2 separate regions of the Homo sapiens genome follow, and region 2 is linked to region 1. The links are contacts of gene promoters, found by promoter capture Hi-C in human tissues and cell types (Jung and others, 2019). All regions are on one chromosome and are shown on one strand. Each heading gives the region's core, a stretch centred on a gene start or on the middle of the fragment in contact. The rest is flanking DNA. Distances are from core to core; before and after follow the strand shown. Region 1 holds the start of TRPV6 (transient receptor potential cation channel subfamily V member 6). Region 2 has its middle 110 kb from the start of PRSS1.

Evidence for each region. Contacts are between HindIII fragments. The study calls those that stand out against the background at their distance.
Region 2: a fragment that was not itself captured here is called in contact with the fragment with the promoter of TRPV6 in region 1 in 1 of the 25 tissues and cell types used here (spleen).

The regions. Positions count from the first base shown.
Region 1 is chr7:142,883,824-142,887,194 of GRCh38, forward strand. It overlaps TRPV6 (transient receptor potential cation channel subfamily V member 6), which reads right to left and starts at 1,922. Exons shown (of 15, transcript NM_018646.6): 1 at 1,566-1,922. The coding sequence starts at 1,813. The HindIII fragment of the contact is 20,954 bases long and covers 1-3,371 here.
Region 2 is chr7:142,635,788-142,639,448 of GRCh38, forward strand. It overlaps TRB and the pseudogene TRBV21-1. Among named protein-coding and RNA genes, the nearest start is that of PRSS1, 110 kb to the right of the region's middle. The HindIII fragment of the contact is 4,866 bases long and covers 1-3,661 here.

The DNA of each region.
Region 1 (3,371 bases), core at 672-3,171:
GAGGCCAGTAAGGAGATCAGGGCAGGGAGGGGGGATCCCTCCCAAGGGTGACATCAAGCCTTTCTAGCCAAAGTCTGCAGAGGCAGCCCCCATATGATCTGAGGAAAAGTGAGGGCAGACAGGACATGCGGAAGCAGCCTATTCTCAGCCACTCAGCGCAGGGCCTCCCCTCTGCTCTCCCCTGATATCGCACACAGGGAATCTCCACCACCCCTTCCAATCCCCCAGGCCTTTTTGCACTCTGTGCCTGGATCCCCTGGCCCTGGGGTCCTAAGAGTGGGAAGAGGATGAGTGAAGCCAGTGAGGACGACCTACTCTCTAACAACAATGCCATTCTGTTGCCCCAAGATGTCATCAGCCAAACATGTGCTCCAGTCCCCACTCTCCCAGGCCTTGGGGGAGAGGTGGGCGGCTGGAGAGATGGGAAGCCATAATTCACAGAAAGAGACCATCCCCAACCCAGAATCCTTCAGCAAAAGAAAACACAGGGGCCTCCAGGCAGCCTCCCCGGTCAGGCTAAAGCAGGCTCCTACTCTTGGGGTCAGAGAAAAACCCTAAGGCACAAAGACTTCAGGCTTTCCTCTATGACCAGACATCTGCCTCCTTCGTGACCCAGGGAAAGCCCCAACAGGCAGGACTTCCTTCTAGCATGCCACCAACTGGGTAGAGAACTCTATTAGAGACCTTGAAGAAGAGACCACATGCAGGGATAGCCCTGAGTTCCGATTCCCTGCTCCTCTCCTGCTCTGTACTCCAAGCTGTCATGGTGAAGAAAGCAGGACACGGGTTTAGGAAGTTTTCAGGGGCTGGAAGCCACCAGTGAATGTCCTTAGGGCTTAAACGCTAGAGTCTCGATTTCCACCACCTGAATGCGGAAGAGCACAGGTCCTCGGAACATCTGTTATTTTGACCCGCTTCCCCTCAGTCCCCACCCGCACTGAGAGAGAAATACACCTCAAGGTTGGGTTTGAGCGTTGTAGGTCTTCATATCCCCCCAGTGCTGGGCAAATAGTAAGGCCTTGGTCAGTGTCTGATGAGACAGATACATAGGAATGGTCACTTTTTTCACATTTTGTCTTATTTTCTGGTTCCTGGTGTCCGCGGTTCTCTCTGCTTCATTCATTCAATCGTTCACTCATTCCTCCATGCGAACATATGTATACTATGTGTTCCTGCCAGAGAGACTGTTCTAGAGGCAAGCAGTGGAGATACAGAAGGCATTGTCCTCACCTGCCGTCCCCTCTTGGGTGGAGGGGCTGTGATGCTCTATCCTTACAAGCCCCAGCAAGACGCCTGGCCCTTAGAGAAGTACTCACAAGAGGCTTGCAGAATCGAATTAGATCTTAAGATAGTGAACACCTGTGCCCATCTCAACCCCATCCTCTTTCACCAGCCCTACAGGCTGAGGCTCTTAAGACAGAATGCTCCCAAGGAGCCAGTCCGGGCCTGGGAGCACCATCTGTCCAGCCAAAGGTGCCAAACAAAGACGGGAGGTGAGGGAGGGGTGAGGGGTAGAGGTGCAGGCCTGGGGAGGTGGGGAAGGGAGCAGACCAAGGGGGCCTTACCTCTTCTGCTGCAGCAGGTTCTGCTCATCTCGGCTCTGGGCCCAGGACTCCCGTCTCTGGAACCATCTGCAGAACTTGCTCCATAGGCAGAGAATTAGCCCTTTCTCCTTGGGCAGTGACAAACCCATGGGGTGTAGGGCCGGCTCCTTGGGGGCCTGAGGCCGAGGCCAGACCCTGACGGGACTCAGCCTTGGGGCCACATCAGCCCCCCCAAGGGCCGGCCCACCGTCTCCCTGTAGAGGTCCCGTCTCCTGTCTCCTGCCTTCCTGACGAGTTCCTTGGGAGTCTCCCAGCAGCCCCAGCCAGTTTGGAGAGGGCTGTGAGTTTGTTACACTTGGCAGAGCCAGCCAGGACTCTGCAGGGCTGGCCTGTCTGGAGCTCCTGCTGGGAGTGAGCAGGAGGAGCCAAAGCTGCACGGACACGCCCTCCCTCCTCCCAAATTACCTGAGATTTAAAGACACAGGCCAGCCACAGACCTGCCTACCAAGGGGGACTTGTGCCAACTCCAATTCTTTCTCCACCCAGGGCTCTCTCCCTGCCCCCAGGCCAGTCACAACCAGGGAGGCCTTCAGAAAGACTGGCGAGGCCTCCCTTGGACGTCAGAACACCCAGTGACCTACCCTGAGAGACTCTAGGCAGTGAGAAAGGAGGGGAGGAGTCAGGGCAGGCCCATTCCCAATGTTGAGGACTCCCAGGAGGGAGCGCCCCACTTTCCCACAGTGCCTCTTCTGCCGACCACCTGCCTCACTCTCTGCCTCCCCCTGCTTATGTCCTGGAGAATTCCATTTTCTGGACTCTTCCAGTTTCATTCTTGCCAGGCCTGAAATAGGTATATAAATTGCGAAGATACTCAGTTCTCCCAGACTTTCCTCTCAGTCCCCATCACCTTTGGGTCAGCAAACTTTTTCTGGAAGGGCTGATAGGAAATGTAAAGATGTTAGGTTTTGCAAGCCATGTACACTCTCTAATGTACGTTATTCTTTGGTTTTGTTTTGGTGGTTGTTTTCTAACCACCCCCAAAGATGTAAAATGCATTCTTCGCTCACCAGCCAGGGCACAAAATCTAGCTCTGGGCAGACCCCCTGCTCAGGAGCTCCACAGACTGTCCACAATGCCCCGTGCATGGGGTGGGTGCCCGATAAAATACAGGACACGTGGTCAAATTTGAATTTTAGATAAACAACAAAGAATTTTTTAGTATAAATATACCCCACGTTTTGCAAGTATTCTATCTGCCAGCCTTCCCGTGGAGGTGACATTCAGCTGCTACTGTGTGCTGGGCCTTTTAACTGAGCGTTCCCAGGTAAACTCGTAACAAACCTGCAAGGCAGGTATTATTATCTACATTGTATTGATGGGAGAAACCAAAGCTCACCATGGTAAAGGAACTCTCCCAAGGCCATAGAGGTGGCAGAGGCAAGATTCACACCCATCCCTCATTCCAAGCCCACTTCTTTCTCCCTAGCACACCTCCTCATTCTAACTGGCCAACAGAGCTTCAGAGAGGTTAAGTGACTCGCACAGTCATACAGAAGAATGATGGCATTAAGCATGGCCCATCGTCTTCCCACAACAAAGAGCTCCATCATGAGCTTGCTGGAAGCTGTCGGAAAGGTCATTTAGTTCAACTTTTCCACTGGAAAGGGGCAGAAGCCCGGGCTTATCCAACCTCCTGGTGCCAGCCAGGTGCCAATAGCCTAGGGGCAGGTGTCTGGGTGTTCAGAGTCACAGGTGTGTGGATCACTTCCTAGCTTCAGAGTCTGTTTTGTCCTAACTTTCTCTGACTCAGAGTTGGAAGACCCAGCC
Region 2 (3,661 bases), core at 105-2,604, 250 kb before region 1:
GCTGAGATCATGCCACTGCACTCCAGCCTGGGAGACAGAGCAAGATCCGTCTCAAAAATAAATAAATAAATAAATAAATAAATAAATAAATAAATAAATAAATACTTACTTAATGTAAAGCAGCTGCTATGTGATTTTATAAGTGTGTCAAAAGCTACTATTTGTAAAGACCGAGTTGTATGATTCCTTACCTGAGATGGAAGGGAGGGGAAGAAGCAAACTGACAAGTTAAAAAAGTAAATAGAGTGTAAATTAGTTCAACCATTGTGGAAGACAGTGTGGAGATTTCTCAAGGATCTAGAACCAGAAATACCATTTGACCCAGCAATCCCATTACTGGGTATATACCCAAAGGATTATAAATCATTCTACTATAAAGAGACATGCACATACATGTTTATTGCACCACTGTTCACAATAGCAAAGACTTGGAACCAACCAAAATGCCCATCAATGATAGACTGGATAAAGAAAATGTGACACATATATTCCGTGGAATATTATGCAGCCATAAAAAAGGATGAGTTCATGTCCTTTGCAGGGACATAGATGAAGTTGGAAACCATCATTCTCAGCAATCTATCACAAGAACAGAAAACCAAACACCGCATGTTCTCCCTCATAAGTGGGAGCTGAACAATGAGAACACATGGACACAGGGAGGGGAACATCACACATGGGGCCTGTCGGGGGATGGAGGGCTAGGGGAGGGATAGCATTAGGAGAAATACCTAATGTAGATGATGGGTTGATAGGTGCAGCAAACCACCATGGCATGTGTATACTTATGTAACAAAAGTGCACATTCTGCACATGTACCCCAGAACTTAAAGTATAATAATTTTTTAAGTAAATAAATGTATGAGTGATTTTACTTAAAAAAAATAGCAAAACAGTGAGTAACAGAAAAAAAAAAAACTAAAAGCAGGCTGAAACTTACACTATTTTTAACAGCTAAAACAAAGTCTGCCCTCCTACATTCTTTGAAATTGAAATGACTCTGTCCCATGTACAGAGCATCTACAAAGGCTATGGAAAGTGATCACGTCACAAGGAGGTTGCTGACGGGGGCTAGGAGAGTGGGTGAAGAAGCCTTACAGAAAAAGCTACCACTACGATTTCTTTCTGAGCCAACCATGTGCCTCAGACTTCTCTGCTGTGTGGCCATTTCTTTCTGGGGAGCCAGGTAAGGCCCTGTTCTGAACTGGTTGAATTTCAGTTCCAAGACTCTCTCCGGTGGCTGCAGTATCAAGCTCCCTCCTGCGCTTTTTCTACAGCTGCTCTCTCCTTCCTCCACAGGCTCCACGGACACCAAGGTCACCCAGAGACCTAGACTTCTGGCCAAAGCAAGTGAACAGAAAGCAAAGATGGATTGTGTTCCTATAAAAGCACATAGTTATGTTTACTGGTATCGTAAGAAGCTGGAAGAAGAGCTCAAGTTTTTGGTTTACTTTCAGAACGAAGAACTTATTCAGAAAGCAGAAATAATCAATGAGCGATTTTTAGCCCAATGCTCCAAAAACTCATCCTGTACCTTGGAGATCCAGTCCACGGAGTCAGGGGACACAGCACTGTATTTCTGTGCCAGCAGCAAAGCCACAGTGCCGAATGTTAGCCCTTCTTAGAACACAAACTCATTATGGACCCAGCTCAGGAAATAAGTGTGTAGCAGGTTGGTAGGCACTACGTAACAGAAACCCAACTTGAAAGACAATAAATCAGAAGGAAAAACTTGTAAATAACAGCTCTAAGTGAGCAAAAAACAAAGGGGGGTTATTTAAAACAACTGATGGGGACAAAACCCCAGGGAAGGGGCCAGAAGGCATAAAAAGCTTGGATTCCTCAGTGTTCAGCATATTAGGTAAGATATGCTAGGTTACCCTCTCTCTCTCTCTACATGAGCTTTATGGATTTCTAACAATCTTTATTTAAAGAAGGGGATTCTGTGCTTTTCACTTGGTAAAGTTGTGGGTGCACAAATAAGAATGACAAGCGGATCAACTGTGTCTTTCAGGTAGACCCTGATCTTCTGACCCAGCACATTTCCTTGAACTAGAGACAGACTCTAAAGGGCTTTTTGACTGCTTCTCACAGCTCTCCCTGCCATAGAAGCCTAGTGGGAACCATTAGCAATTCCTGCCCTATGGAATGTTACAATCACAAATTTTTATTTTTATTTATTTATTTATATTTATTTTAATTTTTTTTTGAGACGGAGTCTCGCTCTGTCATCCAGGCTGGAGTGCAGTGGCGTGATCTCGGCTCACTACAAGTTCCGCCTCCTGGGTTCACGCCATTCTCCTGCCTCAGCCTCCCGAGTAGCTGGGACTACAGGCGCCCGCCACCACGCCCAGCTAATTTTTTGTATTTCTTTTAGTGGAGACGGTGTTTCACCGTGTTAGCCAGGATGGTCTCGATCTCCTGACCTCGTAATCCGCCTGCCTCGGCCTCCCAGAGTGCTGGGATTACAGGCATGAGCCACCACGCCTGGCCAACAATTACGAACATTTTTAAAGCAACTCTATTGAGACATAAGATATATATGGAATATGTATGCAATAAACAAATCCAACTGCTGCAATAAAACACACCCGCATTTTAAGTGTACACTTCAACAAATTTTAACACATTTTTATACCCATGATGTAACCATGATGACAATCAAGATACAAAACATTTTCATCGTCTCAGAAAGTCCCTCACATCTCTTTATTGAGGTCTTGTTAATTTCTCTCAGCATCGCTTTGTATTTTTTATTATACAGATCTTATATATATTTTCCTAAATTTTATTTTAACAAGATTATAAATGTACTCAATAAAAATATTTTCTGCCAAGATTTCACGTCAGCCTAATTCAATTTCGTCTTTACATTTTTCAATTGACATCTCTACCTCAGTATGTTACATAAAAATACCTTCTCCAGAAATTGCATATGGTTTGGAGCAACCATATGTGAGCTCACAGCGTCAGCCTCATTCACCATGTGAACCAATCAAGTGTCAGTGCTGCTCTGTTTCCAGGTAAAATATACTTATTTACATGTATTGGAAAAGCTGTGAAATTTCTGCAAGGTGTACTTTAAGAAGAGATACATTTTGTTAATGAAAACATACCTATGCGTTAAGATTAATTAAAGGGAATATTTTGCAGTTAAGCACATGATTTGGAATGAGGGGTTGCAGCCCTGCTGGTCGAGCCTCTGAATTCCATTCTTGTTTCTCCCATAGGCCACCTTCATCAGGTCTATAGTTCTACAACACAGAGTGTCAGTAGTAGGGAACGTTGTTCATGTGAGTGCAGGGAATACTTGGGATTCTGTAGTTTCTGCTCAACTTTGCTGTGGACTTAAAATTGCTCCAAAAATACAATTCACTAATTTAAAAATGGATCCAAGTATTCAGATGGAGAATTACCATATTGGAGGCACGAAATGGGAACATACTGTTGAATCTGTTGCAATATAGGAAGAGTGTTTAATGACATAAACTTTTTCATTATTTACTCCTTTATCTAGGAAATAGGACACTATTTAACACTGACTACAATGAGGATCTTAAATACAGTAGAACTGTCTAAATTCCATCAATAAGAATAGTGCATATATTACCAATATTGGGATCTGAGGTGTCTCAGAATTAGTAACACATAGTACTGTAGA